2 separate regions of the Homo sapiens genome follow, and region 1 is linked to region 2. Evidence: promoter capture Hi-C in human tissues and cell types (Jung and others, 2019). All regions are on one chromosome and are shown on one strand. The core of a region is centred on a gene start or on the middle of the fragment in contact, and the rest is flanking DNA. Distances in the headings are between cores, read along the strand shown.

Evidence for each region. Contacts are between HindIII fragments. The study calls those that stand out against the background at their distance.
Region 1: a contact is called between a fragment that was not itself captured here and the fragment with the promoter of MAGI1 in region 2, in 3 of the 25 tissues and cell types used here (aorta, pancreas and spleen).

The regions. Positions count from the first base shown.
Region 1 is chr3:65,957,781-65,963,172 of GRCh38, reverse strand. All of the region lies in intron 1 of MAGI1 (membrane associated guanylate kinase, WW and PDZ domain containing 1), which reads left to right. Among named protein-coding and RNA genes, the nearest start is that of MAGI1-IT1, 5.9 kb to the right of the region's middle. The HindIII fragment of the contact is 4,275 bases long and covers 1-3,420 here.
Region 2 is chr3:66,035,816-66,040,791 of GRCh38, reverse strand. MAGI1 (membrane associated guanylate kinase, WW and PDZ domain containing 1) reads left to right here and starts at 1,874. Exons shown (of 23, transcript NM_001033057.2): 1 at 1,874-2,796. The coding sequence starts at 2,484. It overlaps LOC105377128 (a long non-coding RNA gene), which reads right to left and starts at 1,839. Exons shown (of 2, transcript XR_001740440.2): 1 at 1,594-1,839; 2 at 498-740. RefSeq lists a silencer at 1,787-1,906 and enhancers at 2,859-3,686, 3,687-4,514, 4,515-4,976. The HindIII fragment of the contact is 7,387 bases long and covers 29-4,976 here.

The DNA of each region.
Region 1 (5,392 bases), core at 34-2,533, 77 kb after region 2:
TAATTTTTTTTTTTTTTCCCCACTGTGTTGGCCAGGCTGTTTTCGAACTCCTAAGCTCAGGCAATCCATCTGCCTTGGCCTCCCAAAGTGCTAGGGTTACAGACGTGAGCCACTGCGCCTGGCCAGATTGTCATTATTTTAACAGCAGAACTCTCTGAACAAATTACTTCATTGTTTTATATGCAGTGTTTAAAAAAAAAAACTCATCTTGTTTTAACTTTTTTTTTTTTTTTGCTGACACTTGAGGTAAAACCTAATTTCTCTGCTCATTTTTTTGTGACTTTCTTTTTCTTTTCTCCTCTTCTTCTTCTTTTTCTTCTGCTTCTTTTTTTTTTTTTTTTTCCCCCCGAGACAGAGTCTCGCTCTGTTGCCCAGGCTGGAATACAGTGGCATGATCTCTGCTCACTGCAACCTCTGCCTCCCATGTTCAAGTGTTTCTTGTGTCTCAACCTCCTGAGTAGCTGGGATTACAGATGTGGGCCACCACGCCCAGCGTTTTTAGTAGATATTGGGTTTCACCATGTTGGCCAGGCTGGTCTTGAACTCCTGACCTCAAGCAGTCTTCCCACCTCAGCCTCCCGAAGTGCTGTAATTACAGACGTGAACCACCTCGCCTGGCCAGTGTCATGACTTTCTAATGGACGTTTTGATGTAACAAAGCTGATCTTCCTAAATAAGCAAGTTGGAAAGTACATTTGTTGTGTGTGTAGTTCCTGGAGGAACTTTAGTACACTTGAAAAATACAATTCAGAGGCCGGGCGCGGTGGCTCACGCCTGTAATCCTAGCACTTTGGGAGGCCGAGGCGGGTGGATCACGAGATCAGGAGATCAAGACCATCCTGGCTAACATGGTGAAACCCCGTCTCTACTAAAAATACAAAAAAAAATTAGCCGGGCATGGTGGCGGGTGCCTGTAGTCCCAGCTACTCAGGAGGCTGAGTAGGAGAATGGCGTGAACCACTGCAGAGCTTGCAGTGAACGGAGATCGCACCACTGCACTCCAGCCTGGGCGACAGAGAGAGACTCCGTCAAAAAAAAAAAAAAAAAAAATACAATCAGATTAATGTCCATGAGAACAAACAGTCCAAATATGCTTTCTTCTTATCTTGAAACTACTGATATGACGGATAGGAGGAGACAAACAACCTCTTCATGAAGACTATGCCCAGTCACTTCATGGAAGCTGTCCCAATTTGGAAATAGCTTTTTCCAAAGCACTTAGCTGATTTGCTCAGGTGGCTCCCAGACTCTTAGCTCTAACCAAGCAATTTGCTGTAAACTTCTTTCTTCTCAGCACAATGGAACATTCATGATGTTTATCTGGCAGAAACTTTATTAAGGGAAGCCTGACAGGAAGGTTGGGGGAAGAGGAATGGAGTCTGTCTTTATTGGAAAGTTTGTTTCTTGAAACGTGTAAAATGACACGAATGGATGTGGTTCTTTGATATCAGTTCACCTCCTGACTGCGCTGAATACAAGGAACCCTGTTTTCTGCGGAATGCCTTAGTAAGGCACTATCTAGGCACTCACTAGACCTTTAAAAACAAGTCATTAGTTTCTCCAAGAGGGCTTCATTTTAATATTATTTTCTAAGATACCCTGCATAGCATATTTAAGGGTCTTTCTATGTTGAATGCACAAATGATTTTTCAGTGGATTTTTGGGGGGTTTTTACATGTTTTCCTTAATTTACATGAGGACTCTTTATTATACTGATCATCTATTTAGTTAACAGTGTACAGTTCAGTTATGCATTTTGCAGTGTTGCATAAGGAACTGGAGTTGAAAATAACAGTTGTAGTTACCACCCAGGAAGGGAGGGGCTGAATAACTGAATGAATTTAAAGAGGTGAGGGGAAATGCATTATGGGTAGATAGTACCAAGCTCAAGGTGACTTCTGTAGATTTGTGTTGACTAATTCTTCGACTGGACAGAGACCAGTTCGTTTCCTAGCTGTCTGTCCTACCTTTAATGCATTGCAGTAAGTGGTAATAGCCTGTTGCAGGGGTACACCAAATGGACACAGGAATGCCCCCTTCTGCCTTCCCCTCTTATCCCTAGATGAATGGTGTCATGGAAATTCAAAGGTTATTCCGGGATTTCATGTTAGTTGAAAGCAAGTTTTCTTATTTCTCATTTGGCATATCAATTTTTGCAGGCCTGCCATTTCAGGCTGGCCCATGCTCTGTACTGCCTATAGCATAGAAAAGACAGATGAACTTATAGCTTAGAGCCAAGGTACAGAAAGTAAATAAGAGTGATGTCTTCTTAATAGACAAGGAAGGAATCTATTTAACTGGGGTATTTCAACTCTTTTCTCAGAATTTTCTTTGTGGCCATATAGGAGCAAGGATGGTGAAGTTATATGGAAACAAAGGTGGGGAAATTACAGACAGAAATGGAAGAGTTGAAAGGAAGGAAGGATAACAAGAGCCCACCTCCCTGCAGTCTGCTCAAGGGAAATCTTGTACAATTTGTGTGGACAATGAAATTTATAATTTTGGCTTCAAGCTTGGGTGACTTTCTCCTCTCTGATTATAGGAAAAAATATTATAATTAAATTAGGATTACGCACTTTTTCCCCTCTTCAGTGTCCTTACATAGGACAGACATCCTTCTTGTTTGGTGACCACAGGGACCAGTGACATCCTAGTTTTCTTGGAATTGTTTGTACTTATTGCTTTATTAGAAACCGCCCTATAGTCAGATGTCTTGCCCACCCTTCTTCAGTTCTTTTCCCCCAAGATGTCAAAACCCTGGTGAGGAATCTGTGAAATGTGAACTATGATTTGGTTGTATGAGGTTCAGTGAAACAGCTGGAGGTTTTCCCAGCAGAAGGCTAACGCAGAATTGTCTAGACATCACTTTTTTCTTATCTAGTCAAGCTTTTCTGGGAGCTTTTCCACATGAGGAATCTAGGCTCAAAGGAAAATCAGTTTGACTGGCTAAAAGCTCATCTGGCAAGTTTAAATCACTCCGGAAACATACAGAGCTGCAGTCATTGGTTTGACAAGAACAGAAAGATACTTGTCTCTGTTGTTGCTAGTATTAAAAGAGAATTTATTGGCCGGGCGCGGTGGCTCACACCTGTAATCTCAACTCTTTGGGAGGCTGAGGCAGGCGGATCATGAGGTCAGGAGGTCGAGACCATCCTGGCTAACACGGTAAAACCCTGTCTCTACTAAAAAATACAAAAAAATTAGCTGGGCGTGATGGCGGGCTCCTGTAATCACAGCTACTCTGGAGGCTGAGGCAGGAGAATGGTGTGAACCCGGGAGGTGGAGCTTGCAGTGAGCCGAGTTTGCGCCACTGCACTCCAGCCTGGGCGACAGAGTGAGACTCTGTCTCAAAAAAAAAAAAAAAAAAAAAAAAAGAGAGAATTTATTTATTTGTCCATTAAGACATTAGGATGGGCGTGGTGCCTTACACCTGTAATCCCAGCACTTTGGGAGGCTGAGATGGGAGGATCACTTGAGTCCAGGAGTTTGAGACCAGCCTGGGAAACATAGGGAGACCTTGTCTCAATAATAATAATAATAATAATAATAATAATAATAATAATAATAATAAAAATGCTGGGATGGTGGCCCATGTCTGTAGTCCCAGCTACTTAGTAGGCTAAGGTGGGAGGATCTTGAACCCAGGAAGTAGAGGCTACACTGAGCTATGATCACACCACTGCACTCCAGACCCTGTCTCAAAAAAGGAAAAACCAAAATAACAAAAAGAGCATCACTCACTTACTGTGCACAGACATAGTGCCTTGCCCTGGGGAATCAGTGATGGGTAGAATAGTGATGTTCTTTGTACTGAATTAAATCATTGTATAGCTAAGAGGATAAAGACAACTTGAGTAAAGGGCAAGTAGGAAAGGAATAATGTCTTAAGGGAGTAGAAGACAAAGGATGCAGTAGAGAGGAAGGAGAAATCAGAGAACGTTTGAATGCAGTAAGCTTGAGGTGAGCCTGAGATATTTTTGGAATTTAACCAAAGGAAGGGGCTGTCAAACAAAGCTAGTTCAGAGTCCCAGGATTTGTATCTTTTGGAGTGACTGTGCCCTCAGAAACTTCCAGAGACTTTTAGAACTCATTCAGGCTTTGGCTTTGGCAGTTGTAAGAAGCACCACAATTCTTTCTACTCTGGACAAGGGGCAAAATGTGGTTTTTTTTGTTGTTTTTTTTTTTTGAGTTACAGTCTCACTCAGTTGGCCAAGCTGGAGTGCAGTGGCACGATCTCAGCTCACTGTATCCTCTGCCTTCGGGGTTCAAACGATTCTCGTGCCTCAACCTCCCCAGGAGCTGGGATTACAGGCACACGCCACTGTGCCCAGCTAATTTTTGTATTTTTAATATAGACAGGGTTTCACCATGTTGGCTAGGCTGGTCTCGAACTCTTGGCCTCAAGTGATCCTCCTGCTTTGACCTCCCAAAGTGCTGGGATTATAGGCCTGAGCTCCCCCGCCTGGCTAAATGTGTATTTTTGCTCACAAGCACCATGGGCATCAGCTTTAAACCTCCGATATATGGGCCATATTACCCGGAACTCTGTTGTCTTCTGTACGACTTTTGGAAGTTAAGTCTACCCATGCAGATAAGGATATTTAATTCCACACTAACCTCAGCTTCTCTTAGGAACCACTGCAGAGAATGCCCAGTTTTTACCCAGTCTAAGGCTATTTTCGGTCAAGGCATGAAATGACTTTGTCATTGCAGTAAACCCTAGTCACTGTGCAGGTAAGCCTCTTCTTGAGATGGATTGCATGCATACCTTTTTGATGATACAATAAGCAGGTCTTTATTGGATGTGAACAGAGTTTAAAATGTTGCTGAGTTGAACATTGGAGGGTGAAGGGATTTCTCCATAGAGTTGTTCCTGCATGTTAAGAATATTGAGCTAAATTTAGAATGTCTTACACTGTACCTATTTTTTCCTGTGTAAGTCTCAAAAACTTGATTTAGACTTGAAGGTTTTATGAATGTCCCTACTTTTTTGTTTTAAGAGGGAGGAAGAGGGAAGGAGAGGGAGGTCATTTGATTGAGAAGGGCATAAATCGCAGTGGATGAGTTACCACAAAGTCAGTCCATATGGGTTACAACAGTTCAATCAAGAACTAGGCCAGGCGCGGTGGCTCACACCTGTAATTCCAGCACTTTGGGAGGCTGAGGCGGGTGTATCACCTGAGGTCAAGAGTTAGAGACCAGCCTGAACAACATGGTGAAACCCCCTTTCTACAAAATTAGCTGCGCGTGGTGCTGCATGCATGTAATCTCAGCTACTTGGGAGGCTGAGGCAGGAGAATCACTTGAACCTGGGAGGCAGAGGTTGCAATGAGCCAAGATCATACCACTGTACTCCAGCTTGGGCAACAAGAGCAAAACTCCATCCCAAAAC
Region 2 (4,976 bases), core at 625-3,124:
ATTAGCTTAGAATAGCACCCTACAATGCTTTAAAAGGATGTTTAAACGTATGCCTAAACCAGGTATGGTGGCTCACATCTATAACCCCAGCACTTTGGGAAGCTGAGTCAGGAGGTTGGCTTGAGCCCAGGAGTTTGAGACCAGCCTGGGCAATCAACATAGGGAGACCCCCCCATGTCTACAAAAAATCAAAAAAATAAAACTAGCTGGGCATGGTGGCATGTGCCTATAATTCCAGATACTCAGGAGGCTGAGGTGGTAGGATTGCTTGAGTCCAGAAGTTCGAGGTTACAATCAGCTAGTCGAGCTACTGCACTCCAGCTTGGGGACAAAGCAAGACCACGTTTCTAAAAACACCACCACCACCATCAAAAAACAAACACACAAAGTATGCCCATATTTTCTAAGTTCTAGAAAGGAGAGGATAAATTATCATACTTACTAACTTGAATCCCCAAATGATTTCCCAATTTTCTTCCCAAATAGTAATACTACTATTAAGAATATAATGAGTTTTTATTATTTGCCACTTTATAAGTGTTTTCCCACGTAATACTTCCAAGAACCCTGTGAGGTCTTGTTCTACTTATTTGATCAGCGAGAAACGGAGGCGCGGAGGTCACCAAGCTTGCTCAAGGTCACACAAGGGTGGACCCCTGAGCCTACCTCTCAACCTCGACTGCTGTGTCCATCCTTTCTTCATCGTTTCAACGTACCCCCCTCATTTCTTGGAATCTCTCCTGTGACCAAAGATGAACAAAATTATACATCACTAAAGAGGAAAACAAACTGCTGGGGAGACTACTCAGCAGCCTGATTTGAGGAGTATTTGGGAAGGGCAGCCTTCCTGTGGTATGGGAGTCTTTCTGTCCGCCACCTCGCCGGGACAGAAGTCACTCCATCCGCACCCCCGGGCGACCTCCGGAGGCCGCAGCTACCCCCGGGCTGCGAATTCCGAGTTCTCTCACGCCCCCGCGGGCGCCAGGACGCAGGGCATGTCCGCGCCCGGCGGGGATCCTTATCTCCTGGCCCCGGAGTAGGTCCGCAGGCTTCTCGGCCCTGCCAGGAACTTGAGGCCGGGGCAGATGATTGACTGGGTCCAGCAGTCTCTGCTGGCAGGGCAGTTGAAAAGCTAGAGGGATCTCTTTTTTGGTTGAATACCTGAACCCACACTAGCACCATGGCTTCTCTCTCTTGCCTGTAGTTTCCCGTGTCCTAAAAAGTTGGTCCCAAAGTTTAAGGATGCGGGTGTGTGTAAGAGCGCGTGTGACCCGCACAGGGATCCCAGTTGGGGAACCGGAGGATCCCACCGTCCCCCTCCCCCGGGTCGCAGAGACCCTGGCAGACCCCGCGCCAGGACCCGAACCCGCAAGCGCAGGGCAGGCAGGGAGGCGGCGAGCGCCCCGGGGCGGGTCTCGGGGGTTTCAGTGGGACCTGCGGCAAGGGGGGCGGCGAACCAGCCGGGCTGGGTGACCGACAGCCTGGCCAGCCACTGGCCGAGGGCGGTTAGGAGGCTTAGGGCCGGCGCGAGTGCGTGCGCGTGTGCGTGAGTGTGAGCGCCAGGGTGAGTGTGGCAGCCTCCCCAACCCCCACCTGTTTGAAATGGTTTTCAAATGCCAAAGCCAGATTGCCCGGGTTTCAAAAGTTGCAAACAGTTGGAGTAAAACACGTGTGCGGCCCTCCAGCCCCAAAGGAATCCGCGGAGTCCAGGGCACTGAAAGAAAAGGAGAGAGGATAGGGGTTCAGGAAGGGTTGGGGGGGAGTTGCCTTCTCCCGGCAGGTCGGTTTTAGGACCCATCGGGAAGCACGTTGGAATCTCTCCCTTCGGGGAGGAGGGGAGGGGTGGGCCGGCCGGCTGGCGGCCGCGGGGCGCATGCGCGCGCGTCTCCTGTCGCCGGCCGCTGCGCTCCGCGGCGCGGAATAGAATGAACTGTAACAAAACAAGCCGAGCCTTTGTATCTGCTTAAAGGGGCCGCGAGCACTTACCTCCCGCCCTGCTCCCCGCCGCCCCGCCACCGCGTCTTCAGGGCTCCCGGCAACTGGCTGGAAGGGCTTCCCTCACCCTCAGTAACAGCCTGCCAGCGAGGAGAGGCGAGCCGGGCGGGAGGCAAAGAGGAGGCACCGCATTTGTAAAAGGCAAGAGAGAAAGGAAGGAAGGAAAAAAAAATAACCCGAGCGGCGCAGAGTGGACTCTGGTCCGGGAGAGCACGGGCGGGCGCCGGAACGTGGACCCAGAGGCACCGGAATGCAAACAAAGCTCGCGGGCGCCTGTGCGGGGCTCGCGGGGAAGCCCAGAAAGTTTGTTTTATGATGGCTTGAGTGCGCGAGCGTGTGCAGGGGAGCGAGGCTGCCAAGTTTCTCTCTCCTGTTTTGTGATTTGGGGAGAGATGTTTCTCCCATGAACAAGCGGAGGCTTGGGGGCTCGTGCTGTGGGGGGCACCTGTCTCTCGTTTTATTTTTTTGGAGGAGGGGTGTAACTCATCATGTCCAAAGTGATCCAGAAGAAGAACCACTGGACTAGCAGGGTTCACGAATGCACCGTGAAGCGGGGACCCCAGGGCGAGCTGGGGGTGACGGTGCTGGGAGGCGCGGAGCACGGGGAGTTTCCGTACGTCGGAGCGGTGGCGGCGGTCGAGGCAGCGGGGCTTCCCGGCGGCGGCGAGGGCCCGAGGCTGGGCGAAGGGGAGCTGCTTCTGGAGGTGCAGGGGGTCCGGGTGTCCGGCTTGCCCCGCTATGACGTGCTGGGGGTCATCGACAGCTGCAAGGAGGCCGTCACCTTCAAGGCCGTCAGACAAGGTAAGGCAGGGCGCGCCTTTGGGGGGCGCCCCGAGAAAAGGAGGGTGGTCTGTGGGCTGCCCCTTATTCTCGATTTCCTGCTTCCCTCCTCGGAGCGCAGTGAAGAGAAGTTGAGGCCGTGCGCCCTGTGGTGGCGGTGAAATACACAAAGTTGTTGCGAGGTTGAGGGTTGTTTGCCCACCTGCGTTTCGAAGAGGGGGCTGGGTTTGCGCAAGGTAGCGGGGGGACGTTTCTCAGGCCTGGCTGGCCAACCTGTTATCTCCGCCACTAAGTGCAGCGCAGTCTCGCCTGCACCCGAGAGAGAGTTGGGGAACTGAGTCAGGGGCATGGTGGACGCTGTCCTGGCTCCTTGGGGGAGGGATGCAGCTGGCGTTCTTTGGCCACGAGTCAGTTTCCATACCTGCTGAGTGGGTATACAGAAAGAGAGGGTCTGTAGTTTATTGGACCTCCCCCATCAGAAAATCTGCTTCACCCCGCGACCCCTCCAGGTGAGCTAGGACACCACTGCCTGGCGGTTCCTGAGCCCGCCGCCAGAAGAGCCTGCATTCACCCCTCAGCCGGATGACGCATGTGTCTCCACCGTGTGGCTCAGCCATACACTTGGGAGGGGGAGAGGGGGAAGGGGTGCTTGCTTTTAGCTCGAATCGGGTCCAAGTTTACCCTCCCACCACCACCATCATCGTCATTATTGATGATGAAAATGAAGCTACTATTCATTGTTGGTTTACTACATGCCCGGCTCTGTGTAAAATACTTTACTTGCACTATCTCACTCCGATTCACAACAGTTCTAAGAACGAGTTGTTCTTATTTATATACCCCAAATTAGAGATAAGGAAACTGGGATTGATACTGGTTAAGTGACTTGCTCAAGGTCACACAGTTGCCAAAAGCGAGGGTTTGAGCCCTTGCTGCAGAGCCTTAAGTATGGAGGAGGAAGGAGTGGGGGGATGACCCTACCGCACTGAAGGGGCTGATTCCTGAGGAGGGAGTGGAAGCAAATTCCTCTCTCAGAAATCTGTAGAGGCCTTTTAAAAGATGCATTTGCTGGCTGCTGGTGATGTAGGTCCCTTACATCTCACTTTGGTACAGACAAGGGGCTGTCCTCATGTCAACCCAATGGAGACCAGCTGAGGCCCTTAAAGGGCTCCCTTGTGCAAGCAAGTGCCATGACGCAGGTTCTCCCCAGTGAAAGCACCGAAGGAAGTCGTGAAGTTGAACATGGTGAAAAGTTCCCATGTGTTTCCATAAGGACAGGCAGCAGCTGGAGGAATGTGTCAAAGGAAGGGCTGGGCCTAGCTGGTCCTCTCTTGGAAACAGGCGTGCTCCAGATGAAATGGAGGAGGGGGCGGCCGACTCGCCTGGCCTTTTAGCAGCTTTGGGAGCTGAGGAGCTGACACTTAGCTATGGAAAGCTCCTTGTATTTATGACTTCATTCTCCACTGGGATACCTCCTCCAAGAAGCCCTCCAGAATCCTGCTAGGATGCACAAATTCTTCCTCCTTTGGGCTCCTTTAATGTCTACTTTGTGGCTTTTTTACTTACTCTGAACTCTGAGTTAGGTCCTCATTTCCATACAAGGTAGTGAGCTCATTAAAGGGAGAGATTGTGCCTCATTCCTGGCATACCTCTCCAGGTTTTGCTTGAGGTTCAAAACCTTTCCTGGCCTGACAATGCGTCTTCCTCACACTGGCTTTCCTGTGGGTATTACATAAGCTAACACGTGGAAAGTGCACCCAACAGTGCCTGTACATAGTAAGTGCTCCATAAAGATTAGCTATTTATGTTTGAATTGATTTTAGCAGCTATTTATTTCTGAAACTAGTTTTTAGTGTCAGGAACCTGGATAATTATGACTTGATAGGGCTGTAGAGAAAATACTGTGTGAAGGCATAGGATGGGAGCAGCTGCAGGTCTCAGTTCAGGACCATTTTGGAGAAAGGGTGGAGGAAGGACAGGCAAGGGTACCTGCCCAACTAGGGGGATGCCTCGCAGTGTCTAACGGGTCCTGAATAGGGGCTGGCTTGCAGTGTTTGCAGTGTGCAAGATGCTGCATGGGCTTGTGTCTCTTCCTTCCACTAGTTGCCAAATTTCTGGGAGGCGATGTCCCAGGGCTCTCTCATCATGGAGTTTAGGAAGGCTTGGTGAGATAATCAAGTGGGTTTGGAAACAGACACCTC